Linked DNA regions of Homo sapiens: all the other regions are linked to region 4. The links are contacts of gene promoters, found by promoter capture Hi-C in human tissues and cell types (Jung and others, 2019). All regions are on one chromosome and are shown on one strand. Each heading gives the region's core, a stretch centred on a gene start or on the middle of the fragment in contact. The rest is flanking DNA. Distances are from core to core; before and after follow the strand shown. Region 1 overlaps CEP85 (centrosomal protein 85). Region 2 overlaps CEP85 (centrosomal protein 85). Region 3 overlaps CEP85 (centrosomal protein 85). Region 4 holds the start of HMGN2 (high mobility group nucleosomal binding domain 2). Region 5 holds the start of LOC105376888 (a long non-coding RNA gene). Region 6 overlaps UBXN11 (UBX domain protein 11). Region 7 has its middle 64 kb from the start of ARID1A.

Evidence for each region. Contacts are between HindIII fragments. The study calls those that stand out against the background at their distance.
Region 1: a contact is called between a fragment that was not itself captured here and the fragment with the promoter of HMGN2 in region 4, in 3 of the 25 tissues and cell types used here (adrenal gland, heart right ventricle and neural progenitor cells).
Region 2: a contact is called between a fragment that was not itself captured here and the fragment with the promoter of HMGN2 in region 4, in 8 of the 25 tissues and cell types used here (IMR-90 fibroblasts, adrenal gland, dorsolateral prefrontal cortex and 5 more).
Region 3: a contact is called between a fragment that was not itself captured here and the fragment with the promoter of HMGN2 in region 4, in 1 of the 25 tissues and cell types used here (H1 embryonic stem cells).
Region 5: a contact is called between a fragment that was not itself captured here and the fragment with the promoter of HMGN2 in region 4, in 5 of the 25 tissues and cell types used here (dorsolateral prefrontal cortex, hippocampus, liver and 2 more).
Region 6: a contact is called between a fragment that was not itself captured here and the fragment with the promoter of HMGN2 in region 4, in 2 of the 25 tissues and cell types used here (adrenal gland and ovary).
Region 7: a contact is called between a fragment that was not itself captured here and the fragment with the promoter of HMGN2 in region 4, in 1 of the 25 tissues and cell types used here (H1 embryonic stem cells).

The regions. Positions count from the first base shown.
Region 1 is chr1:26,252,373-26,255,991 of GRCh38, reverse strand. It overlaps CEP85 (centrosomal protein 85), which reads right to left. Exons shown (of 14, transcript NM_001319944.2): 4 at 127-821. Among named protein-coding and RNA genes, the nearest start is that of CEP85, 20 kb to the right of the region's middle. The HindIII fragment of the contact is 5,989 bases long and covers 1-3,619 here.
Region 2 is chr1:26,236,271-26,240,164 of GRCh38, reverse strand. CEP85 (centrosomal protein 85) reads right to left here. Exons shown (of 14, transcript NM_001319944.2): 2 at 327-403. The coding sequence starts at 381. Among named protein-coding and RNA genes, the nearest start is that of CEP85, 4.0 kb to the right of the region's middle. The HindIII fragment of the contact is 3,847 bases long and covers 577-3,894 here.
Region 3 is chr1:26,269,406-26,273,131 of GRCh38, reverse strand. It overlaps CEP85 (centrosomal protein 85), which reads right to left. Exons shown (of 14, transcript NM_001319944.2): 9 at 3,518-3,672; 10 at 2,025-2,118; 11 at 1,061-1,111. Among named protein-coding and RNA genes, the nearest start is that of SH3BGRL3, 8.8 kb to the left of the region's middle. The HindIII fragment of the contact is 3,763 bases long and covers 235-3,726 here.
Region 4 is chr1:26,470,918-26,474,581 of GRCh38, reverse strand. It overlaps HMGN2 (high mobility group nucleosomal binding domain 2), which reads right to left and starts at 2,142. Exons shown (of 6, transcript NM_005517.4): 1 at 1,955-2,142; 2 at 1,055-1,099; 3 at 850-879; 4 at 447-497; 5 at 1-10. The coding sequence starts at 1,969. It overlaps DHDDS (dehydrodolichyl diphosphate synthase subunit), which reads right to left. Exons shown (of 9, transcript NM_205861.3): 9 at 3,276-3,664. RefSeq lists silencers at 1,418-1,587, 1,628-1,917, 2,178-2,447, 2,332-2,747 and enhancers at 2,117-2,826, 2,827-3,535. The HindIII fragment of the contact is 14,054 bases long and covers 1-3,664 here.
Region 5 is chr1:26,687,058-26,690,831 of GRCh38, reverse strand. It overlaps LOC105376888 (a long non-coding RNA gene), which reads right to left and starts at 1,650. Exons shown (of 3, transcript XR_001737950.2): 1 at 1,595-1,650; 2 at 467-541; 3 at 20-56. The HindIII fragment of the contact is 5,506 bases long and covers 1-3,774 here.
Region 6 is chr1:26,287,225-26,290,828 of GRCh38, reverse strand. The region is part of intron 8 of UBXN11 (UBX domain protein 11); the gene reads left to right. Among named protein-coding and RNA genes, the nearest start is that of SH3BGRL3, 8.9 kb to the right of the region's middle. RefSeq lists enhancers at 1-22, 33-172, 264-1,076, 953-1,092, 1,103-1,382 and 1 more. The HindIII fragment of the contact is 5,264 bases long and covers 1-3,604 here.
Region 7 is chr1:26,630,352-26,634,314 of GRCh38, reverse strand. No RefSeq gene overlaps it. Among named protein-coding and RNA genes, the nearest start is that of ARID1A, 64 kb to the left of the region's middle. The HindIII fragment of the contact is 4,824 bases long and covers 1-3,963 here.

The sequences.
Region 1 (3,619 bases), core at 671-3,170, 220 kb after region 4:
CTGTCTACAAACATCTTCCTTCTTTTTACAGCTATTTTCTTTAAGCCAAAATTCAAAGGACAAAAGCTATTACAATTCTAAGAACTGTACAGAACCTAGAAAATCCAAGGAAAGATAGACCTCTACCTGCATTTGCTCCATCTGTAAACGAATCAATTCCAGCTGCTGCCGACAAGTGCTGAGTTCACAAGATTGCTCTCGGGGATGCCAAGTGTCAGGACTCGGCTGCCACACCTGAGAGGGCAGAGGCTTGGAGAGCCCGGGAGCAGGCTGGAGTCCCAAAGGGAGGACCCCACTGCTATTAGAATGTGGTCCATTCCGCTCAAACACTGCCCCGCTGCCCGGTGCCTTCTTGGCCTCAGGCAACACTCTGTACAACTCCTTACTTGTGCTGGTTCTTGGGTTGTGGAAGCGGACTCGGTGGTGAGGATCTGAATAAAGTGTCTCCATCATTGCCGACTGATTGAGGGTAGATTCCATGCTAGGAATATCAAACTTCCTCGCCTCTTCTTGTCTTTCATGGCCCACTGCTGGAAACCAGGACTGCTCAATTCCATTTTCTCCAGTAGCACCAGAGAAATACATGAGATCTCTAGATAGGCCTGGAGAATGTTTCATTGCACCGAGGTCTCCATTTCTTGTCATTCCCACACTTTCAGCCAACCCTGACAAAGGGAGTTTAGAGGAAGAGGGTCCAACAGGTGTAGAATTTGGCTTGGCAGGAGAGGTCCCTAAAGTAGAAGGCATCACATGGGCTGTTGGAATGGTTACGTGGCTTTTGATGGGCTGGAAAGGAGGACTGCCACTTGAGCTGCAAAAATCTGGGGAGAGAATAGTCTTCCATAAGTAAAAATTGAAGTAGCAAGCTTTCTTGAGTTTGAATGCTATGCCAGAAGCTCTCGGCCTGTCCTGAGACCAAGCAGAGAGAGCACCATCATCAAAAGTATCAGGCAGAAAGAAACGGCAACCAAACTGGGAGATGTATGTTCCAGGATCTCAAATGCCATTCACAAGGTAAACTAACAAAAGGCAATAATGACTTCACTTTTAACTTAGTCCTTTGTACTGGAATAAAAAAAATCTTGTCAGTCAACAGACAAAGCTGAAAAACTTTTAAAAAGTTTTTTAAAAAATTTAAACTTTAAAACAAATTACTTACTTAAGGAAAATGAGTTAGGTCCTACTCTTCTGGAAGCTGGACAACTCTCAGCTATAATCAAATCTAATAAAAATATCCTTTCCAAGAGTCACCAGAATCTTCTGCGACCTCCAAAAGCTCCCCCAGGAAGGTGAGCAACGAGTCCAAACTATCTGAAGAATGAAGCGAACTAGACAGTCTTGCTCAGTATGCAGGACAGGGAGTATGGCATCTGAGGCAGGATTCTGTTCTCTCTCCCATACCCCAAACCTGACTGCCTGGATATGTGAAGTTATTCTTAGTAACTCTCAGGTTTCACTCTAGCACAGTGAGCACTCTCAATTGGGTACACACTGAAATCCTCTATTTTATATTTTGCCTTTCACTTGCCCCCTTGTGTGTACCCAACTGTGTTTTTTTTTTTTTAACTTTTCCTTCAGACTGAATTTGTGTTTCCTTTGGCTCCTGCCTGGTCTTGGGAGACAACCCTTGATTAGCCCTACTATACAAGGTTCACATTTCTACCTATTTCCAACTTTCAAGTACTACTCTGAGGGGGACTACTGCAAGCAAACAATAAGGGAGGAATGTGAGGTAACATACTTATTGCTTTCAGCAGGCAGAAAACTGAATAAGGAAATAAGGAATACCAATTTCTTCTCTTTTCAACTATATTCAGTACTCGTTCCCAAATCAAGCATATCTACCACGGAGAAGAGCGACTACCAACTTGTTTCTTTTTCTCCCCAGCAACCAACACAGAGAACACTCAGATAACAACAACAAATACTATAATTGTTCCCAGAATTATGTAAGTATAGATCAGCTACGACCTTCTCATTAAACAACTTTTTTTTTTGAAATGGGGTCTCACTCTGTCACCCAGGCTGGAGCACAGTGGCGTGATCACAGTTCACTGCAGCCTCGACCTCCCCAGGCTCAGGTGATCTTCCCACCTCAGTTTTTGTATTTTTAGGAGAGATGGGGTTTCGCCATGTTGCCCAGACTGGTCTCGAACTCATGGGCTCAAGTGATCCACCTGCCTCAGCCTCCCAAAGTGCTAGGATTACAGGTGTGAGCCACCATGCCCGGCCTTAAGCAACTCTTTAAAAATATGGGCAAGCCACCTCACACCTGTCAGAATGGCTATGATGAAAAAGATGAGGCCGGGCGCAGTGGCTCATGCCTGTAATCCCCAGCACTTTGGGAGGCTGAGGAGGGGGGATCATGAGGTCAGGAGATCGAAACCATCCTGGCTAACACGGTGAAACCCTGTCTCTACTAAAAATACAAAATATTAGCCAGGTATGGTGGCACGCGCCTGTAGTCCCAGCTATTCGGGAGGCTGAGGCAGGAGGATCGCTTGAACCCAGGAGGTGGAGGTTGCAATGAGCCAGGATCGCACTACTGCACTCCAGCCTGGGCGACAGAGTGAGACTCCATCTCAAAAAAAAAAAAAAAAAGATGAAAGATAACAAGTTTGGAGAGGATGCAGAGAAAAGGGAACTCTAGTACACAGTTGGGGGGAATGTAACACAGCCACTGTGGAAAACAATGGAGTATGTAGCTCCTCAAAAAACTAAAAATAGTTACCATATGATCCAGCAATCCACTTCTGGGTATATATCCAAACGATATGAAATATGTATGTCCAAGAGATATCTACAATCCCATGTTTACTGAGTAATTATTCACAATAGCCAAGTTATAGAATCAACAGACGAACAGATAAGGAAAATGCAGTATATTACACAACGGAATACCAGCCTTATAAAAGATGTCAATTGTGTCACTTGCAACAACATGGATGAAACTGGAGGACACTAAGAGAAATAAGCCAGGCACAAAATGACAAATACTGCACGTTCTTACTTATATGTGGAAGCTAAAAAAAACCTCGACACATAGAAACAGAGAGAATAATTGTGGTTACCAGAAGCTGGGAGCAGGGGGAATCGAGAGATGCTGATCAAAGGGTAAAACATTTCGGTTAGACAGGAGGAATAAATACTTTAAAAAAAGACGTGCAAGCCTTATATTACATGCATAGTATCTAATTTGCTATACTGAAGATGATCTTGGGGATATATAAAAGGCCACACTAAAAAAACACACACACACGTAACAAAACAAAAACCTGAATAAGTTCTGATAACATGCATTAGTCTCTCAGGACCAAGAAAGAAATTTCTCAGTTAAAGGACCCAGTTTCTGATGTCTCACAACTTAAATATAGGACTAGTACACAAGGTTAAGGCAGACTGCTAGTGATAAAGACTTCAAAGACTAGTAAGCAATACAATTTTTTGTTTTATTTTTTGGAGCCGGAATTTCACTCTTGTTGCCCAGGCTGGAGTGCAATGGCGCGATCTTGGCTCACCACAACCTCCTCCTCCTGGGTTCAAGCGATTCTCCTGCCTCAGCCTCCCAAGTAGCTGGGATTAAAGGCATGCTCCACCACGCCCGGCTAATTTTGTATTT
Region 2 (3,894 bases), core at 1,251-3,750, 230 kb after region 4:
CAGAGGACAAAGACAACATAGAACACAGTAATTTATGCTGTGTTTTTCTGATTTCAAATGGAACTATGTTCCAAAGTCATTCTGTTCCAATCCTTTATATGTCGTCCTCTCCCAACCACGTGGTCCTGTTGAAAGCCACATAGCACAAGAGATAAATACTTGTTCCCTCAGAGACCTGTTTTTATATTCAATGAAGCCCCATGTTATTTTTATTCTTTTAGCACCAGCATTTCAGTGAATGCTTGTTTGTTCAATATTTACCTTAAGGAATATGAAAAAACAGAACAAAGGTCAGAATTTAACCCAGAAAACTTCTGACTACTCACTCGGTGAAGTGACGTGAGAGATCCCCTCAGTTGGATATTTCTCCTGCATGGCCATCAATCACAGTTATTTAAGCCAACTGTAGAATGAAGGAATAACCAGTCAGTTCTCTGAAGTATCTTTAATTCCCCGCAACTCAGTTCCCATTCAACTGAAACTGTCAAAACCATATAGAATATTCAAGTATTTGGCCAGGCACAGTGGCTCACACCTGTAATCCCAGCACTTTGGGAGGCCAAGGCGGGCAGATCAACTGAGGTCAGGAGTTCGAGACCAGCCTGACCAACATGGGGAAACCCCATTTCTACTAAAAACACAAAAATTGGCCGGGCATGGTGGCACACATCTGTAGTCCCAGCTACTTGGGAGGCTGAGGCACAAGGATTGCTTGAACCCGGGAGGCAGAGGTTTCAGTGAGCCAAGATCACACCACTGCACTCCAGCCTGGGCAACTGAGCAAGACTCCATCTCAAAAAAAATAAAAAAGAATATTCCAGTATTCTAAATGTTATATTCCTAAGGATATTTAGGAGTAAATATGTTTTTACATGTTTTACTTCTAAGGATATTTTTAAGACAAAGTAAATCCCAATACTCCACTCTACTTCTCTTCCCAAATCCAGTATAGAAAACCTAGAACCAGAGATTACCAATACAGATTCCATACGGTCCTAGAACCCTTCTGATTTTTATAAAATTTAAAAATATTACTTTTAATTAACAAACTTTACCATGAATCTTCTTAGCCATGGGGACCTGATGACAGGACGAGGTGGATAAAGAACTAAAGAACTAAACCAACAGTGAAGTATTACAGCATCAATTATGATTAACACAAAACAAATTCCTCAATTCTTCCAGTAATTAAAGTCAGTCATACGATGTAAAAAGATGGGAAAGAATTCTTGCTCATAAGTAGAACTCCAATCCTGAGCTAGGAACGTGAAGTTCTCGTCCCATGTTCTCACTCCTTAAAATATTTATATTTACAGTACACTAGGGGTAGGTGCTGAGAATTCAGCAGAAGTGGATTTGAAGTCTAAACAAATACACTTGAACCCACTAAACATTAAGTTATCAATTTATTAGCTGTGTAACCTTGGGCAAATTTCTTAGTATCTCTGTTCCTCATTTTCTTCATATAAAAATGAGGATAACAACACAACCTAATTCATGTTAATTCACTTATAATTAACTTACAACAGTTCCTGACACATACTAAGTGCTGTTATTACTTGGCAATTTACATCAACAAAAGTAGCACTGTACAGCCCATGGAAGATCAAGGAGTATCAACTCAGAAACTCTAAATTTATAAAAGCCCCAAAAGAGTTTGGGACAATTCGGCCGGGCTCAGTGGCTCACGCCTGTAATCCCAGCACTTTGGGAGGCCGAGGCAGGCGGATCACCTGAGGTCAGGAGTTCGAGACCAGCCAACATGGTGAAACCCCGTCTCTACTAAAAATACAAAAATTAGCCAGGCATGGTGGCAGGCGCCTGTAATCCCAGCTACTTGGGAGGCTGAGGCAGGAGAATCGCTTGGACCATGGAGGCGGAGGCTGCAGTGAGCCAAGATCGCGCCATTGCACTCCAGCCTGGGCGACAGAGCAAGACTCCGTCTCAAAAAAAAAAAAAAAAGAGTTTGGGACAATTCACAGAACATAATTCTATCACTCTGGAGAAAAAAGACTATATGGTACTATTTCTCTAATGTACTTTAGTGACCTCTATAGTATTCTCTTGTTACTAAGAGAATACTATAGAGGTCACTAAAGTACATAACAACCCAAACCCTTATTAATTCACTGCATCTACAATAGAAAGGGTATCATCCTCCACAATTCCAGTTCTTCACATACTGGGTGAGGGAAGCTTTGTTCAGTAATAAAAGCTTTAGTTTATGGCAAGTATGATTCAGTGAGTTAAATGATGACATAGAATGATTAGATTACCTCCTTACTAGTGATTTCCTTTCTTGTCAATATCAAAATCCTTTTCTTCACTCCTTTCTTTAAAGGATAACAAAATGGTAGGCGCACTGGATTCTAAGGTGTTTCTAAATTCAGACAAGTTGAAAATACGGTGACAGAAGGAGAACTCCGAGTTACCCTATGACTCAGCAATTCCACACTGAAGTATACACCCAAGAGAAATGAAAACACAGGTTTACACAAAAGCTTCAATAAGAATGTTCGTAGCAGCATTATTTACAATAGCCAAAAAGTGGAAACAACACAAACGTCCATGAGCTAATGAATGGATACATAAAATGTGGTATATCCAAAAAACAGAGTATTATTCAGCAATAAAAGGAAGTACTGATACATGTGACAACATGGATGAACACTGAAGACATGCAAAGTCAAAGAAGCCAAACAAAAGGCTTGATCCTATTTATATGAAATGTCAGAATAGGCAAATCCATAGAGACACAGATTAGTGATTGCAAAGGACTGAGAGGAGGGAGGGTAGGAGAATAGGAAGGGACTGCTAATGGATACCGGGTTTCTTTTCAGGGTGATCAAAATGTTCTGAGATTAGATAGTGGTGACTGACTGCACAACCTTGCCAATATATTAAAAACCTCTGAATTGCACACACATAAAATTAAATTTTATGTTATGTGATATAAGCCAAAAAAAAAATTCTAAGACATCCCCAACCACCTGAATGGATCCCTCCCCTTGGCCAATGGCATTCCAAAGTTAAGCTGAAAAACCTGTTAAGGCCATGATGGTGGTAGTGGTGGTGGAGTCCTACACCCCTCATTATACCCTCCTCCCTTCTGGAATTTAGGAAAAGCATTAACATTAACACAGATGTCTGTAAGAAACATTTATAATCTATTCTCTCTAAAGCCTACTATTTGGAGGCTTCATCTGTACAATAAAATGTTGATCCCCAGGATACCTTAACCCAGACATTCCTTTCTATTGATAACAACTTTCAACCAACTGCCAATCAGAAAATTTTGAAATCTACCTATGACCTGGAAGCCCCCACCCACTAAGAGTTGTCTTACCCTTCCAGATCAATGTAAATCTTACATGTATTTGACTGATGTCTCATGTCTACCTAAAATGTTTAAAACCAGGGCACACGTTATCAGGATCACCTGAGGGCTGTGTCAGGGGCCACTGGTCACCCATATTTGGCTCAGAATAAATCCCTTCAAATATTTCAGAGTCTGACCCTCATTGACAACAAATATCTCAAAAAAGAAAAACAGAAAGAAAGAAACCCCGTAAGGAGTAAAACAATACAAAATAAATCATTCTTGACTTAAGAATTAGATGAGCTACTGGTGGAAATTTTTGGGACAACTGAAGGAGACAGAAATTTCCTGGGATAAAAATGAGAGAAGTGAATGTACAAGAAGTAACACACCAGTTATAAAGCTTAGAAAGGGAGTGAATGGAGGCAGACAGAGGGGAAAAAAAAAAAAAGCACCCAACAGGATTGGTTTCCATCTTCAAAGCCCTTTAAACTACAGAAACAGTCACTCATTCAACAAATTTAACATGCATTCTGCACTTACTACCTATCAAACACTGTGCTCAACACTTTTTA
Region 3 (3,726 bases), core at 867-3,366, 200 kb after region 4:
TGTTACCTCCTAAAGTCACTTAAATCTGTCCCCTCACATCTCCTCGCTGCTATGCTGCCTTATGCCAGGTTCCCTCATCACCTCTCACGAGAATTTCTCCAACAGTCCCCCTGGACCTTTCTTCTCTCCAGGATGCCAATCTTCCACACTTGAGCCTGAGTTGCAAACCTGACCACATCACATCCCAATTACATGCTGTAATAGGCTGGGCATGATGGCTCACGCCTGTAATCCCAGCACTTTGGGAGGCCGAGGCGGGCAGATCACCTGAGGTCAGGAGTTCGAGACCAGTCTGGCCAACGTGGTGAAACCCCGTCTCTACAAAAAATACAAAAATTAGCCGGGCGTGATGGTGGGCACCCGTAATACCAGCTACTCGGGAGGCTGAGGCAGGAGAATTGCTTGAACCTGGGAGGCAGAGGTTACAGTGAGCCGAGATTGCGCCATTGCACTCCAGCCTGGGCGACAAGAGCGAGACTCTGTCTCCAAAAAAAAAAAAAAAAAAAAAAAAAAATGCTGTAATAGATGCCCACCACCTACATAAAGAATAAAAGCTAACTTAGTTGATAGATAAGGCCCTTCCATAGCCTGGAATGCCCAGGTCTCCATTTACCATCTTAAAGTGGATACGTCAGCAGTATCAAACTGCTTGCAGCACCACATTCAAACTATGCTGTTTCATGTCTCCATGTTCCCACTCATGCTGTTCCTCCTATCTGGAATCCAACACATCCTATCCAGCTCCTCTTGTTTGCCTGGCTAACTCCTCATCCTTGTAGGTTCAGGATCTCCAGAAACCTCTCTTTTACCTCCCTTCCTCCCACTGACTCTCCTGCACTCCCCCAGGATACTGTGGGGACTGCTCTCACAGTACTGTGCTGAAACTCCCTACTATATTTGTGTCCTCTCAGCAAGGCTCAAAAGCACTGACTGGGTCTCATTCTTTTTGTATCCCTAACACTGAGCAACCTGCATGGCAGAGAACAAAATAAATATTGGCTAAATTCTAGAGATTCCATCATTAAGTTCTGCCCACCATGTCCCAAGGATTCCTGCTCACCTGTACTTGTGAGCGCAACTGATCCATCTTCTGCTGCTGCTTCTCCACAATCTGAAAGGCAAAGTTATCAAGGAAGGCTGCGAGCACAAGGCTGACGGTGAGGACAGAGGGCAAGGGGGCTGCACTAGGACATGTGGTCTGGCTATTAGACCATTAAGAGTAAGACCAGGATAAAGATTAGTGAACTCTACCTATAGGAATATAAACCAGACTCCTAATCCTGGCTAACTAGCTTCACAGTTGTGCTCCAATCACAAAGGTTTATACAGGAATGTAGTGTGAACACATAACCACTACTGGGGGAAAGGGAACTCTCACCCTAATAACTGCAGGCCAGTGGAATCAATTTTATAAACAGCCAGTGCAAACTCTTGTTCTTTGGTACAAGGACATGGCTAAAAATTCAGTCTAATGAAGCTTGCCATTTCTAGCACTATGATGGTTGTTGTTATTTACAGCTCTGGTCGTACTGATTATCCAAGAAGGGACCCTAAATAGGCCTGGTTTCTTTGAATCATTTATGGGTCTTCTTTTTTTTTTACTAACCTGCAGTCAGTTTCACCAGCCGGCCCCTGGCTCTCTCGTCTTTGCTGAATTAAGAAACCAGGGCACCTCACTGGTTAGAACTCTGTTCAATTCAAGGGTTTCTGTATGGGCCTGAGCCATGAATAAAGTGCACCAAACTTTACTGCACCATTTTGGGTCATCTAATCTAGATATTCAGAGGCATATCACCCCTCCTCTTACTTTTGCCTATATTCTAAATGAGTGAAGTTTGCCTGTTACAAGGATGACTATCTAAATACAAATTACTATGCAGGGTGACTTCTCCGAAAAGAAAGAAAAGCTCTTGGTAACAAATCCTAGATAGCCCAAAGCCAAGAATTCACGTATCCCTCCTAATACACAATCTTCTCTTTCCTCCCAGCCTACCCTCCGTTACAGCCTGGACACCCTCAGTCACCTTTTGGAGCGAATCGTATCGCTTCTGCCAGGACTCCATTTCCACTTCTGGACCTTCTCCACTGGTCTCCTCCACAGACTGTTTATCTTGCAGGCTGAAAGACAGTGGCCTCTTCAAGAACTCTGAAGTTAGACACAAGTGGCTTTGATTCTTGGTTCTGCTACTTATTGCACATTTTGAGGCAAGACACTTAGTCCAAGCAGTAGCTGGGGATAATACTTGGGTCTGCTGTAATATATGGGGTGCCACACAAAAGCTGCTCAGTGTATGTTAATTCTCTTCCCTAAGGGCCAGAATCTATACAATGTGACACCAATTCTCTACCTGCCCAAGGCTCTTGTGTATTTTGTTTTGATATTTAAAAAATACATATTTATCACATGTATTTAGATTGTAAGTCATACATGTACATTGTAGAAAGTTTGGAAAATACAAAAGCTGTTTTCTTGGCACACACAGTCTGGGGCAAAGCCAACTTTGTCCTCTAACCCCACTTCTGACTCTAACCAATGGTTTCCTCCAGTGGGTCCCTACAATTACTTATAGCAAAGCCCATCTGCTGAGATAAACAACAGGGACACTGTGGTTAAATATGGGATGAGAAATCCAATCTATCCCATTAGAAACTGGATTTGGTCCAAGAGGCTGTTGAAACACACCATTATTTTCAGAAACTGCTATTAATATGGAGAAGGCTCCCAAGACATCCTGAGAGTACATTATGGCATCTTGTTTTGTTCTCAGAACCTGTCATGGCAATGGAGAACAATCCCTAGGGCTGAGGAGAAAGGCTCCTGGTAGCCTTTAGCCTACACAGCTCGAACTGTGGATAACTCTCAGTTCTTATCACCAGTACCCACTTTTGAAAGTATACAGACACCTCATTTCCCAGTTTACAAAGTGCTTTCATTTATTCAACACATACATACTAAGAATTATGTGCCAGGCACTGGGTTAGATCCTTACAAAGGCTATGAAGATAAGCCCCCACTGCATCCATACTCCATGCCAAAGATATAAAAGCCGCTTCCTGGCCGGGCGCGGTGGCTCACACCTGTAATCCCAGCACTTTGGGAGGCCAAGGAGGGTGGATCACGAGGTCAGGAGATCGAGACCACGGTGAAACCCCGTCTCTACTAAAAATACAAAAAAGATTAGCCAGGCGCAGTGGCGGGCGCCTGTAGTCCCAGCTACTCAGGAGGCTGAGGCAGGAGAATGGTGTGAACCTGGGAGGCGGAGCTTGCAGTGAGCCAAGATTGCACCACTGCACTCCAGCCTGGGCGACAGAGCAAGACTCCGTCTCAAAAAAAAAAAAAAAAAAAAAAGCCGCTTCCCATAAGCAGCTTTCCTATTATTCACAGTCCAAAGAAAACAAAGCTCAGATAAGTAAAATGATTTTCCCAAATCACCCAAAGTCACACAGGTAAGTGAGCAGGATGGCTATGACAAAAAACTTAACTCTCCACTCCTCTCAGTCCCACAGGGTTATTTACCTATGTCCAGCGGAGGAGAATTCTGCTTCTCTCTGCCTCAGGCTTTCCAGTTGAATCTCCTTCTCTCTGCAGATTGCCTGGGTCTCCTCCAGCAAACTCTCCAGCTCAGTCACTTTCTCCTGCAGCTCTGTGCTCTTCAACTCAGAATCCTTAAGCTGAGAGACAGGATCCCATGTTTAGGTCAAATAAGCCAAGTGTTATAAATGCAA
Region 4 (3,664 bases), core at 893-3,392:
TCTCTCCCTTCTGAAAAAGGGGAAAAAATAGAACTGTTTCTCCCCATTTCGTATTACCAAGGTATGGTCTGCAAAGTTCTGCACAAGGTAGGATTGTTTACTCAAGATAAAACACAAACCCTCACCCATTTGACAAGAACAACTGATCAAAACTAGGCTAAATTATCTGTAATTTGCTATAATCTTTAGTACTTAGAATTTCCTAAGTAACAGAAGAATAAATTAGTTTAAACCCTGGGGTATTTAATATTTAAATGCAGATTTTCCTATAAACTAACAACAGAATTCTTGATCAGGAAACCAACGTTATGAATGACACGGACGAGGTAAGCTATCCACACAGTTTATAACCTCCATTAATGGAGGCACCATTATGCTAATTAAGTTAAGGCACTAAGGACAGTCCTCATTCTGTGAAAATGATCAGTTCCAATGTTAGCACTTACCTTTGCAGGGGCCTTTTTAGGCTTGGGCTCTGGCTTTGGAGGAGCAGGTTTCTTTTTTTGGCAGGAAGAGAGGAAAAAGTGAACATCAGTACAATGGACTGAAGAAAACCACCCACAACCAACCAAAAGTACCAAGGGTAGAGAAGTTTCTCCTCCTCCTCAAAAGTTTTTGTGGTTGGCTTTCTTCTAGAATGTTGGATTTCCAGAAGCCCACTCAAATGTCCCACTTTGGCTACAGGCATCAGAATTTCAGAACCAGCAAAACCCAAAGGGGCAAGAGTCCCAAGTAGAGGCAATGATTCAAAACCAGGCACTAACCATAATTCATGGAAGCAAAGGGAATTGTTTTTTGATGTTTTTTAGTTTCAGGGACAAGCACGAAAATTCAAAAGCATACACTTACAGCAGACAACCTCGCGGATCTTCTCTGTGGCTATTAAAGACAACGAGAAAGTTAGAAATAGGACAGGTAAGTCGCTTTGAAAGTTTGGTATCAATTTGCTCTAGATTATAGGAGTGTAAATTCAGGACACAGGTTACGGTTAATCACCGAGTCCAGTGGCCTCTGCTAGTCCAAGGCTTTGACCCTTGAAGAGAGAATGACTTACTTCGTCCTTCACCTTTGCTTTATCTCCCTTAGCATCCCCTTCAGCCTATAAGAAACAAGAACAAAAAACTGCAGATTTTGAGGTGGTTCTTAATTACTTCCCAAACTTTAGAGTGCTAAAAATGAAAATTAAAGCAGTCGTCCACACAACTTTTCTAGGACATAAATGAGTGAGCCCGACGTTCGTATAAGAACGAAGCGCGCGCAGGAGCTCCGGCTCGCCGACCCCGAGAAGCGAGGGCTGGACCGGAGCGCAGCCGGGGAGGGCAGCGGAGCCCGCACCACCGCGACAGGCAGGAGCAACAGCTGCAGATGGCGCAAACAAACCCCCTCCGGAGGCGGAGCCCAGCGCCGTTGCTATGGCAGCCGTCGAGGGCGGGAGAGGGAGGCGCGCGCAGCCCGGGGAACTCGTGGGCGGCGACAGCGCGCGTCTCGTGCGCGGGGAACGTGGGCGAGGGGGCGGGGCCATACCGCACAAGCCCCGCCCCTCACGGCGGCGGTTTTTTGGCGGCAGCGCTTTCCCCCGCCCGCCAACCCCGAGCGCCGCCTTCCCGCCCTTTCGGGTTTGAATTGCCCGCCCGCAGGGAGGGGAGGGAAGGGGCCCTCGCGATGGGGGAGGGGGCACGGGGCGGGGGCGGCGAGCCCGAGGAGAGCGGGATAAACAGCCGCCAACATGGCTCCTCCCGCCGCGGCCGCCGCTCCTCCAATATGGCCTCTGGCGCCCGCGGGCAGCCGAGCCGCTCAGGGTTAGCCCCGAGCTGCCCGACACCGTCTCCAGCCCCCGCGCGGGGAGGCTGCGCTGGCTCCTGCTCGGCGCCGATTCTCGCTCCCTGCACCAGGGAGGCGGCGGCGGCGGTGGCGGCAGTGGTGGCCCGGCGCCTGGGGCCCTCGCGCCACGTACCTTTCTCTTGGGCATGGTGGCGGCGGCGACGGCAGCGGGACGTAGGTGCTGGACGCGGGATGCAGCGGCGCGCGGGCTTTGGTCGGTCCGGGGGTCGTTCTCGCCTCTTCTTCACACTGCTCGGGCTCCGGGGGGTTTATAAAGTTTTTATAGCGCTGGGAGCCCCGGACCGGTTAGAACCGGATTTCACCTCCCGCCGCCGTTCATTGGCCCAGCTGGGGTCACGTGGGCGGGGTTTAAACTCACCTCCTCTGGAGGGAGTGAGGAGGGGGGTGTGTGGGGGGGGTAGTGCGCGGAGACGGCGGCGCGCCGAGGGGGTGGGGGCGCAGTCGGGGTGGCGCGCGTCGAAGGCAGTAAATGAGGAGGGGTGCGCGAGTCGGCGGGCTCCGGGTTCCGGCTCCCGCCAAGAGCTGTCTTTTGCAAACTAGCAAGTTCCTTCCACCTTATGCAACCCAGCAACCCACTTCTCCAAGCCGTGCGACACTCACGGCGCATCTCAGCGGCTTTCCTTCCTGCTCCCGCTGGGGGCCCCAGAAGAGGGGTTTGCGAGGCCTGGCTGCACTGCCCTGCTCCTCTGGAAGCAGGAGGAAGCGCGCGGCTGGAGGCACAGGCTGCAGTTCCCAGAGCCCAGGCTGACGCCAAAGTGGGAAAAAGGCGGGGAAACCAGCTTGGCGCAGCCGGACGTGCATCCTTCCGAGCTGCCACTTCGGAGAAGCCTTTCGTGCACCTCACCTGAAAGACGGTCCCACTCGAGGTGGGCTAGGGGTTTCAGGGGGAGACTTTCCATGCAGAGGTGCCTTTTGGGTGCCGTGGGTCAGGTAGGAGCTGTCCTTTCAGCACCCGTTGCGCAGCCGCCTCCCCAAATGCTATCGAAGCCCCCACCCCCAACTCCTCTCGGGTGGCTCCCTTAAGGTCCCTGTATTCCCAAACCTCCAGACCCCGCCACAGTATGGTGGAGAGCGGCCGTCGAGGTCTACCAGCACTCACTTCCCCCTACACTCTACCCCTCTCGGAGACATTTTGCCCAGCTGCCCAACCCGACGCGGCCACCAAGCCTGGGCACTGCAGCCGCAGCTGGCGAAATCCCTCCTTCCACACTGTCAAGCTGGCTGCCTTTCACTTGCGCGAGGAAAGGAGGGTGGAGGAAAGCGCCCGGGGATTAGGAAACAAGTAGAGGAACAGGTGGTGTGATGGCAAAAGGGCTCTTCCGGTGCCCCCTAGTCCAAAGCCAGGGTCTTGGAGCTAGCCAAGTGCACCTGAGGGAGGGTAGGCAATTGCAGCAGCAAAAGAAGGTGTTCTTCCGTTGCAGTTAGCAAACAAGTTTTACATCTAAGAATCTTTAAAAATTCTATTTGAGACCCAGCACACAAGAATACGATAGATGTCCTCAAATGGGGGCTTGGCTCACAGGTGGAAGGACACTAAATTGGTCCCATCTGATTTCTTGAGGCAAGGGTTGAACCTGGCTTGCACAAATCACACCTGTCCAAAGCAACCACGAGTTCTACTATTTTGCAGCCCTTGCTGCTGGGCGACGACGACGACCTCTCTGCCTCTTCTTTCCACCACTACATCGCCTCCTGGGGCAGCTTCTCCCTACTCCACCCTGTGTACCTTTCCCAGAATACAGAACCTCAGGCCAAAGAGAGATGCCAGCCCCATTAATCACCTCTACTGTACCCCAATCATATTACGGAAAGTCAGACCCAG
Region 5 (3,774 bases), core at 927-3,426, 220 kb before region 4:
TCTCACAGCAACTCTGGAATGGATCTGGAATGGAGTCTTTTATTCCAACACAAGTTCTGTAGAAGAGTTGGAAAGAGAAGGAAAAAACAGTGTAAGCACAGACAAAATGGAGGGAGGCAGGCATGCAGTCCTATGAAATAGGATAGGTGGCTAAAAAAGCAAATGTGCTGTCTGTTCTCTGCAAAGCAACCACCTTAAGAGAATCCTCCAGCATGATGATACTGGGTGTTTTTGTATAAGAATCAAAGAAAATCCAAAGAAATCTATTAGGTATAAGACAGGAATTGAGTGGCCCCTAATGAAAAACATTCTGACTAGCTTTAATAGGGTTTAAACCCATCTATCCCTACAGAAAATGCCTATTCCTAAAGATAAAATGGACCAAACAAAAAAGTCAGGCGTGGGAGTGACTACTATAGTCATAGTAGCAGTGTGGCACTCCACTCCAGTGAAATGCGGAACTTACCAATGACACCAAGGGAAAGCTGCCAGGAAAAATCAGACTGAGTTTTGGCACTTTTCCACATTATCACTTTCTTCCCTGAAATTTAACAATATTGAAACTGGATTCAGAAGTCACCAGAGGGGTTGGGGGTAGGGACCAGCAGGTTGGTTCTTATTGGCCTACCCCTCCAAAGAGACTACTAGAGACCTGTATAGAAGTGTGTTGTTGCTCTTCTAGTCTTGCTGTGGGAGGGAGAGAACAGGAGACAATGGAGGAAATAATCCAGCACACTTCATCAAGCCTATCCAACAAGCCATTTAAAAACAATACGGGAGGCCGAGGCTGGCAGATCACTTGAGGTCAGGAGTTCGAGACCAGCCTGGCCAACATAGTGAAACACCGTCTCTACTAAAAGCACAAAAATTAGCTGCGCATGGTGGCAGGCACCTATAATCCCAGCTACTCAGGAGGCTGAGGCAGGAGAAAATCGCTTGAACTCAGGAGGCAGAGGTTGCAGTGAGCCGAGATTGTGCCACTGCACTCCAGCCTGGGCAACAGAATGAGACTCCGTCTCCAAAAAAAAAAAAAAAAAAAAAAGCACGGAAACACACACACACACCTCTATCACAATGTGTATTCATTAATATAACTCATCCGCAAACTACACTCAAGAGCACACAGTGTTGTGCAACATTAGGCACTATTTTTGCCCCAAACACCAAAACCAGGATGGAGATTACACATTTTTACTAGGCCCTTTCGACTTCAGAACAAAGCCCAAGAGCTCATTGAAGTATTTTTCTCCTAATCACTCACAGCTACTTAAAAATATGGATACTCTAATTAGCTGGGCGTGGTGGCGGCCGCCTGTAGTCCTAGCTACTCAGGAGGCTGAGGCTGGAGAATGGCGTGAACCCGGGAGGCAGAGCTTGCAGTGAGCCGAGATCACGCCGCTGCACTCGAGCCTGGGTGACAGAGCGAGACTCCGTCTCAAAAAATTAAATAAATAAATAAATAAATAAAATATGGATACTCTGTCTAACAAAAACCCGAGTTTGTGGCTAACGTGTTTGCCCCTTTAGCCCAGATAAAGTTGGAAGTCCAAAGGGTTTAGAAAAGAGGGATTCTAGTTGACTCCACCACACCTACCTTCCAGTTCTTTATGAAGTAGTAGCCAGTGTTTCCAAGGTGGAATCAAGGAGAGTGGAAGTACCACACAACCTTCGGAAAGAAAATATTCTCTAGGAAAAAGCTTCAAGGTGAAGGAGGTTGCAACCTGATTGGCTACTGAGGGTTTTTAGGAGTCCATCATTATTAGTACAATTTGTCACTGATTGTAGAGAGGGTCGACAGAAACCATTTTATAATCTCAACCAAGTAATGTAGACCAAGACCGCAGTCTCTACCCTAAATACTCACCTTTCATGATGAAGCAACTTTACCCTATGCACTTGTTCATCCTCAGCAATCCTTGAGTTGCACATGCTCTTCTGACCCACTTTCCACCAAAATCGGTCTTCTCCTAAGACTTAGAAATTTTTGTGAGCCTGTTATTCTTTCAACTAGAAATTAACAGTATGATGATTGCTAATAATAACCATTCCAAAGCTGTATTTTAAAACTTCATTAAGTACCTTGTTCCTTGATTTAACTACCTCCTGGAATACTTATTAATGCTATAGAAATTACATTTAGCGCCGGGCACTGTGGCTTACACCTGTAATCTCAGCACTTCGGGAGGCCAAGGCGGGCGGATCACCTGAGGTCAGGAGTTTGAGACCAGCTCAGTCAACATGGTGAAGCCCTGTCTACTAAAAATGGAAAAATTAGCTGGGCGTGGTGGCGGGTGCCTGTAATCCCAGCTGCTTGGGAGGCTGAGGCAGGAGAATTGCTTGAACCCAGGAGGCAGAGGTTGCAGTGAGCTGAGATAGTGCCACTGCACCCGAGGGCAAGACTCTGTCTTGGGTGGGGGGTCGGGGGGGGGGAATTACATTTAGCTACTACTTGGCAGTAGAATTTTATTTTACTTTATTTTATTTATTTTTTGAGACAGGGTCTCACTCTGTTGCCCAGGCTGGAGTTCAGTGGTGTGACCATGGCTTACTGCAGCCTTGACCTCCCTGGACTCAGGTGGTTTTCCTGCTTCAGCCTCCCTAATAGCTGGGACTACAGGCATGTGCCACCACATCCAGGTAATTTTTAAAAATTTTTTCGTAGAGACAGGGTTCGCCATATTGCCCAGGCTGGTCTGAATTCCTGGGCTCAAATGATCCTCCCACCTTGGCCTCCCAAAGTGCTGGGATTACAGGCATGAGCCACTGCACCCAACTGGCAGTAGAAATTTCTGAAATTCCACAATAAAATTCATAGGAGAGCCCTGCAATAGCAGTAGTGCTAGGACTAAATGCAGTGTCAAACAGGAGCAGTCATGCTGTGCCATAACTGTTCACTGACATCACCTTTTGACTGCCTGTGAGTGATTCATATTCTCAGTTATCTGCTAATGTGAAGATTAATTAATTTAGTAGGTTCTTCACCATTGCACACCGTGCTATAGGACCAAGTCTCCCCCTCACCTCCACCACACACATGCACACACATACACACAAACCTCTGGCATCATATTTTTGTGTGTGATGCCAAAATATGAGAAATATTTAACAGGAACAACAGGAGAAACATTTTCTTTTTTTCTGTTTTTTGAAATGGAGTTTCACTCTTGTTGCCCAGGCTGGAGTGCAATGGCCCGATCTTGGATCACGACAACCTCCACTTCCCAGGTTCAAGCGATTCTCCTGCCTCAGCCTCCCAAGTAGCTGGGATTACAGGCATGCGCCACCCCGCCAGGCTAATTTTTGTATTTTTAGTAGAGACGGGGGTTTCTCCATGTTGGTCAGGCTGGTCTCGAACTCCCAACCTCAGGTAATCCACCCGCCTTGGCCTCCCAAAGTGCTGGGATTACAGGCATGAGCCACCATGCCCGACCCAGGAGAAACATTTTCTAAACAACTAAAAATATGCAGGGGACCTGGATAATAAGGGAGGTTTGTTTTCTATTGTGTTTAAGGTTTTTACTTCTGTGTTTTTAACCCCAGAAAACACACACTCGCTCTCTCTCTAAATATATATATATTTTTATATATATATATATGTATGTATACTTTTTTTTTTAGGGATCAGAGACGCTGGCCAGGATTAAGGTTATACCAAACATATTCCACACTGCCATTTTCCAAACTAAATGAAATAGCAAAAACGTGGAGAAGGAATTTACAGGAATGGAGTACTACAAAGACAGATGAAAACTCTACAGAGGTGTTCTTCTTGGA
Region 6 (3,604 bases), core at 752-3,251, 180 kb after region 4:
CTCCTCACTCCTCACTACTTCCCTGTTCCCCTGAGAATCCTCACCCTCTCATCCCCCTCTGAAATCCCCACTTCCCCTACCCAAGTCAGTCCCTGCCTCCCTCCATGGCTCCACCTCTCCCTGCCAGCACCCCACACGCCTCCCTCCTTCCTCTCAAGCCCCACACTCCTGAGTCTGGGTTGGAGGCCCCCTGACTCCGCAGCCTGCGTGACTTGCCCCTGGGCTTGCCCTTCAATCCCAGAGCCACCTGGCTTGACCCCTCCCCACCTGCACTTCTGCCTCCAGCCTTTGCTCCTGCTCTGTCCCCACAGAGCGCCTTGCCCGCTTCCCTCCCCTCTGAAGCTCAGGGCAAATCCAACCTCCGCCAGCAAACTCTGACTGCCCTGTGTGGGCTGTGCTGCTCTGTGGGGAGGGCTCTGCTTGAGGGAAGGGGCTAAAAGCTCTGGCTGAGGCAGGGTTCAGGTCGGGTCAGACCCCAGATCAGCAGATCGCTGACCCCCTCTGAGTTCATTTCCTCCTCAGTCGTGCTGACGGGCTCCTAGGGCCACTGAATGGATGTGGTAATAAACTGTGACAGCCACTGTCACCTAGCTGTTGTCATGCATGTCCCAGTGCTTGGCACATGGGCAAGGGTGTGTGTAGCTGCATGTGATTGGCTGTGATGCCCGTGTGCCCAGGCTTGGATGATCAGAGCACATTGGAACAGTCATCTGCACATGATGAGGTGGGGACAGGGTGGTGCGTAGCTCAATGGCAGGGGCCAGAGAGAGCTGCAGGTGGGACCCGGCAGGCCTGAGTTCAGATCCTGCCAGTCCACAGGCTGGTTGAGTGTTCTGGCGGGGACCAGACCTGCAGGGCCTCCTTTCCTGCACTGGCTCCTCTGAAGAGCAGAGTGACTGCAGTAAAGTCCCCAGAGCGGGGCCTGGCTTGCAGGTGTGTGGTAATAGTGGTTCCACTTCCTGTTGCAGCCGTCTTTGCCTGAGGGTCAAGGGCAGGCACATGGAGGGCGGCACCGCGTGAGCTGCCGGGGTGCCCTGGGCACTTGTGCAGTGAGGGGCTGCCACCTCTCCACTGAGCATGGTAGGGTCTGGCCCTCTTCTGGGCTCCACAGCCCCCACAGTGATACTTACACATGCCATTGTCGCCATTTGCCGCCCCGTCTTCTTCACTTGAGTCTGAGCCTGAGGATGGCAGGACCCTGGGCGTGGGCATCGCCATGATGGGCAGGGCCTAGCAGAGCACGGGTGCTCAGACATTTCTGGAAAGCAGGATCCAACCCTGCTTTTAGTGGCCCAGCCACTCTGGGCCAGGCCCAGGGCTCAATGCTCCTGAGCTCAAGGGGTGCCCAGCATGGCTGGAAGGCAAACAAGCAAGCAGAAAGCAGCGGCCTGTGACGAGGGCCAAGGGAGTAGGTGCAAGGGCTCCAGGCATGCAGCCTCAAGGCAGGTTGGGGGTGGCTCCTAGCAAGGCTTCTTGGAGGAGGTAGGGGTGAGTGGGCACAGCTTGAGCCCAGCGATGAGTAGGCGGTGCTAGGGACAACAACAGCCACCATCTGCCAAACGCTTCCTCCAAGCCTCACAGCAGCCCTGTGAAGTGTGGAAACTTTTATCGTCCTCATTGTACAGAAGAGGAAGCTGAGGCCCATAGAGGCCCAGGGTTACAGAGCTCGGAAGTGCCCTCCAGTGCCCACCAGAGCGCAAGGCGAGGGGCATGTTGAGGGTTGGCTGGGTGCTAAGTAAGGGTCTTGGGAGTTGGGACAAAGAGCTTGGACTTGAGCTCCCTTCTCATTTTAATACACTCGTGGGCTCTCAAAGTTGGATGAGGCCTCAGAGGTGATCTCCCAGCATTGCCACTCTCCCTGGAAAAGGGACCCCAGTAAGCAGCCTCTCAAGAACCAATATTGAGAGGCAGCCTATGTGATCACTGAGCACTGAGGCTGAGTCACTTGGGCCCTGCAAGCTGCATGATCTGGGGCGTGACAGCTCATAAGGCCCAATTTCCTTATCTGTAAAACAGAAATGGTGATGCCTGCCTCCTGGCGCTTGGCACAGGGCTGTCATTTACAGACAGGTTCACCAGCTGGATCTTGCAGGCAGTACAGGGTTCTTACCATCTCCCCATTGCACAGAAAGGATGGCTGTGGCTCAAAGAGGAAGTGCCTTTCCATTTGAGTTCTGCTGCTAGCTCAGGGCAGACCTAGGACTTGCCCTCTGACCTTACTCCTGCTGTGTGACTCCCCAGCTGCACCTCTCTCCATCCACGGGTCAGGCCTCAGTTGAACCCTGGTGGGGTGGTGGGGGCTCACTGGCTTCACAAGGCCCTGCTGTGGTAGCTCTTCCCACCTCATTCTCTCAGTGCTGGTTTGCCCAGAGCTGTGGTTCCTTCTTCCTGGCCCCTGGTCTCATCTCCACTCTATCATATCCAGCATCTGCCTGGGCCACCTGCTTTTACTTCTTTAAGCCAGGGCCATTTTCTTGGCAAGCTTCTCTCTTCCCCTTCGTCGTTTCTTGGCATCCTCCCTGGTCTCACCCCATCCCATGTCAACCACCCATGTTCATCAGCCTGAAAAACCCCCGGCCCTGGGAGGCGGCAGGAGCATTGAATTAGGAGTTGGTGTATTTGGTGCTCTTCCTGGCTCTGTCTGGTCTGATCAGGCCATGTCATCTGACCTTTCTGGGCCTCACTTTCCCCATCTATAAAGAAGACAGAGCCCTGGTAACACAGCGAGACCCCATCTCTACAATTTTTTTTTAAATTAATTAGCAGGGTGTGGTGATGCCTGCCTGTGGTCCAAGCTACTTGGGAGGCTGAGGTGGGAGGATAAGTTGAACCCGGGAGGTCACGGTTGCAGTATCATGACTGTGCCGCTATACTCCAGCTTGGGTGACAGAGGGAGACCCTTTCTCGGAAAAAAAAAAAAAAGGGTTGAGGCAGGCATTGTATGAGATGATCTATTCTGCTATTGTTTTTAGGTTTGCCTATTTGTCCTTAAGGTAGTTGTTAAAAGAAAAGTGTCTTGGTATCATTCTGTTAGGCGAGTTTTTCCTGGGAATCTCAGGGACTATGTGGGGAGCCCCCGGAGGGGCTGGGGGCAGGTATAGCCCCTTCAATGGTAGGAAATATAGGGGAGAGGAGAAGGCCAGCTGGGGCCTACCATTTCACCTGCTGCAAAAGCAACAGGAAACACATCTGCACCTCCCTGGTACAGCCACTGCACCACTGAGAGGAAAGGAATTAGGTCCCCAGAGCCCTGACCCACATCCTGCCGCAGCCTGCTTGTCCTGTTGAAAAACAGCCTCTCTGAGGCCCCAAAAGTTATTGGTGTGTTGTAGGGCACACCCAAACAGATGACTTACTTGGGGGCCAGGTCCCATCAAAGATGACAGAACAGGCCCCTGGTCTGTACCCAGCCAGCATCTACCTGCCCTCCACCTTTCTGCTCTGTTGTCTGTCACGGCTGTCCCCACCGCTCCGTATTCTCCCCTGAAGCCAGAACACAGCTGTATGCGCCACACGTGTTTCAGAAGAGGAGGCCAGAGCTTTGTCAGCTTCTCAAAGGGGTCTGTGACCCAGAAATAGTTGCACAACCTAAGGTCTGTCCCAT
Region 7 (3,963 bases), core at 418-2,917, 160 kb before region 4:
CTAAACCTCCACCTCCCGGGTTCAAGTGATTCTCCTGTCTCAGCCTTTCAAGTAGCTGGGATTACAGGCATGTGCCACCATGCCTGGCTAATTTTTTTGTATTTTTAGTAGAAACGGGGTTTCACCGTGTTAGCCAGGATGGTCTCGATCTCCCGACCTCAGATGATCCACCTGCCTCAGCCTCCCAAAGTGCTGGGATTACAGGCATGAGCCACCATGCCTGGCAAGATAAGACTTTTTAAAGCCTTAAGCTCGGCCATGGGTTTGTGCCATCAAATACCTATATGAGTAAGGTAAATTCCTCTCCTCTTGAGGTCCAAAGATAACATGGGGTTCCTAGGCTTGTCAGAACGTGACATTCTTTACTTATCATCATAGGTCAGGAACCCTGTAACCCTGCACAGGGCCTGCGTAGACAAGGTATGAGAACATTTTTTTCCCCAAGTGTTTTTTTTTTTGGAGACAGAGTCTTGCTCTGTCACCCAGGCTGCAGTGCAGTGGCATGATCCCGGCTCACTGCAACCTCCGTGGCCCAGGTTCAAGCAAATCTCCTGCCTTAGCCTCCTTAGTAGCTGGGATTACAGGCATGCGCCACCATGCCTGCCTAATTTTTGTATTTTTAGTAGAGGTGGAATTTCACAATGTTGGCCAGCCTGGTCTTGAACTCCTGACTTCAGGTGATCCACTCACCTCAGCCTCCCAAAGTGTTGGGATTACAGGCGTGAGCCACCGTGCCTAGCCCCCAAGGGTTTTTTGTTTGTTTGTTTTTTGAGACGGAGTCTCACTCTGTCGCCCAGGCTGGAGTGCAGTGGCGCGATCTCGGCTCACTGCAAGCTCCGCCTCCTGGGTTCACGCCATTCTCCTGCCTCAGCCTCCTGAGTAGCTGGGACTACAGGCACCTGCCACCACGCCTGGCTAATTTTTTGTATTTTTAGTAGAGACGGGGTTTCACCATGTTGGCCAAGATGGTCTTGATTTCCTGACCTCGTGATCTGCCCACGTCGGCCTCCCAAAGTGCTGGGATTACAGGCATGAGCCACCGCGCCCAGCTCCCCCAAGGGGATTTTATTAGCTCTATAAGTCAACTTCAATTCCTTAAAACAGTCTGTTTGTACCTGAAAGCATGCCATTTCAGTCAAAGCCTTGATAAATTAATGAGTATCTCCAACTGTGTTCTGTTACAAAAGACAGATTTTTTTTTTTTTTTTTTTTTGAGATAGTCTTGCTCTGTCACCCAGGCTGGAGTGCAGTGGCACGATCTCAGCTCACTGCAACTTCTGCCTCCCGGGTTCAAGTGATTCTTCTGCCTCAGCCTCCAGAGTAGCTGGGATTACAGGCACCTGCCACCACACCCAGCTAATTTTTGTATTTTTAGTAGAGATGGGGTTTCACCATGTTTGCCAGGCTGGTCTTGAACTCCTGACCTCAGGTGATCCACCTGCCTCGGCCTCCCAAAGTGCTGGGATTACAGGCATGAGCCACCACGCCCAGCCAAAAGACAGATTCTTATTGCACTTATGCAAATAACTGTATTGCCATAAGTAAGAATACTTACAAACAGTTTCCAAAGTTTGGAGAAACCAGGGAGAAAGGAAGATGCTCCAAATTTTGTTTGTAGGAGTATACTTTAAAAACAATTCAGTTGACTGAGAATAAAAGAACTTTTTTTCTTCAGAAAAATAAGATCCAAGAAGTGAAAAAAGCATAAAAACCTTTTAATATATGCATAGTTTGGATATCTACTTTTAATTAAGCTGACTTAACCAAATCTTTTATTATCAGACTCTAGCTAGGCCAAACAGCCTATATTTCTGGCTTTTGAACTTTACCAAAGGTAACCTCCCAGGTGTTCAGAGAAGAAAAAATTCAAGATGGGAAGTCAGAAGTTGTACATAGAGGGGAAGGAAATCAACAAGTGGCAAAGGTCACACAAATATCAACCAGAAAGTATTTATTCTCTAGGCTGAAAATTTAACCCAGGGTGCCATTGTGAAAAGACAAAACCTTAGCTACTAAGCTACAGCATTAGGCAGTTTCCATTGCTCTTCCCAGACGGAGCCTAGAGCAGTCAATTTTGAGCTTGCAAAGGCTTTTAACTACTCAAGATAATTTTTAGAGCTAACTATGACATGAACTCCAAAATTCCTGTCCTCTGGATGGCGGAAACCAAGAGAAAGTACCACCACGTGGTTACAAGGTCAAGCTCCCAAGGACATAAAACAAGACAAGAGGGAAATTTTATCCAGTTTTTGTTTCAGGGACCTCCAACAAAGTTTGTAACTGACCAGTTTGCCAGGCTGGCTTGAACAGCAGGCTTATGAGGCCCTAAGTCCATGTTCTATCCTAAGGTACTTCTTTTTATGACAGAACAATACAGAAAGATAAATTCATAGCACAAAGCACACCACATTTGCTATAGCTTAAGACTAGCCTCATGAATCTTTAATTAATCAAAAATTTGCAGAGGAGACAATGATTTTTACTGTTCCCACAACCAGTTTGCACAGAGGAGAGGCCAGAAGTCTGACTGGTAAGAAACTCTTACCCTTTTGCCAGCATGCCAGGTTTCTGGGGTTCCCTTTTCCTTTTTTTTTTTCTCTTTTGTGAGATGGAGTCTCACTCTGTCACCCAGGCTGGAGTGCAGTGGCACGGTCTTGGCTCACTGCAACCTCCACCTCCTGGGTTCAAGCGATTCTCCTGCCTCGGCCTCCCAGATAGCTGGGATTACAGGTGCATACCACTATGCCCAGCTAATTTTTGTACTTTTGTACATGTTGGCCAGGCTGGTCTTGAACTCCTGACTTCAACCTGAACCACCACTCCCAGCCGGGTTCCCTTTTCCTGAGTGGCCCTAGCAACCCTGCTTGCTGCACCATAGCCCTGGGGGCCTAGCCACAATACAAAGGAAAATCATCGCTGGGCACAGTGGCTCACGCCTATAATCCCAGCACTTTGGGAGGCTGAGGCGGGCGGATCATGAGGTCAGGAGTTCCAGGCCAGCCTGGCCAACTTAGTGAAACCTGGTCTCTACTAAAAATACAAAAATTAGCCAGGCATGGTGGCGCATGCCTGTAGTCCCAGCTAGTCGGGAGGCTGAGGCAGGAGAATTGCTTGAATGAGGAAGGTGGAGGTTGTCGTGAGCCAAGATCGCGCCACTGCACTGCAGCCTGGGCAACAGAGTGAGCCTCTGTCTCAAAAAGAAAGAAAGAAAGAAAGAAAATCATCGTTTTCCATTTCACGGAACCACAGGCAAAAGCCTCTCAATTTTGCAAGATGCCACCCAACTAGCTGCATGGGGGAACCAAATTAACCTTTCCCATTCCAACCAGAGCAAAATACGTGTCACAAAACATAGACATTAGCCATTCCCCTTAGTGGCCAATATTTAACTGGCAAAGCTCAAACTTGCCTCCGGTTGGGCCCTGTCATCTTTGATCCACTCAGTATGGGGTGGAATGACCTCCAACCAGGAATTTCAACATGTGGTCTCTGGGCAAGAAGGAAGAATAGACAGTTGCCCTGAGTACAGAAAAGACAGGAAAGGGAAAGGAGTCAGAGAGAAAGAGAAGCATTGCCTGCAGTGGGGTGGGGAAGGCTAGGAGCTAGGGAGGCCAGAGAAAGGCCCACCCATTGCAGCGACACTGAATCAAAAGCTCAGGTGGCTGCTTGTGAGTCAGGAAGGGATTTTTTTTTTTCCAGCAGTCCCATCAGCTCTCAAGTTTCTCCCTTTGGGGAGAAAAAAAGCTCCCCATATCCCGTGATTCTATACTTGCCTAATCCTGTCACCCACAGCCATCAGCAAAGATTGCAAGGCAGATTAATCCAAACAGAATGGTGGTTAACATCCCATAGTGCCAAATCCACTTTTAACCAAGAGGGACTTTACCGAGGGAGGCCTTGTTTTTTTATAAATTGAGACGAGGTCTCACTATGTTGCCCAGGCTGGTCTCAAACTCCTGAGCT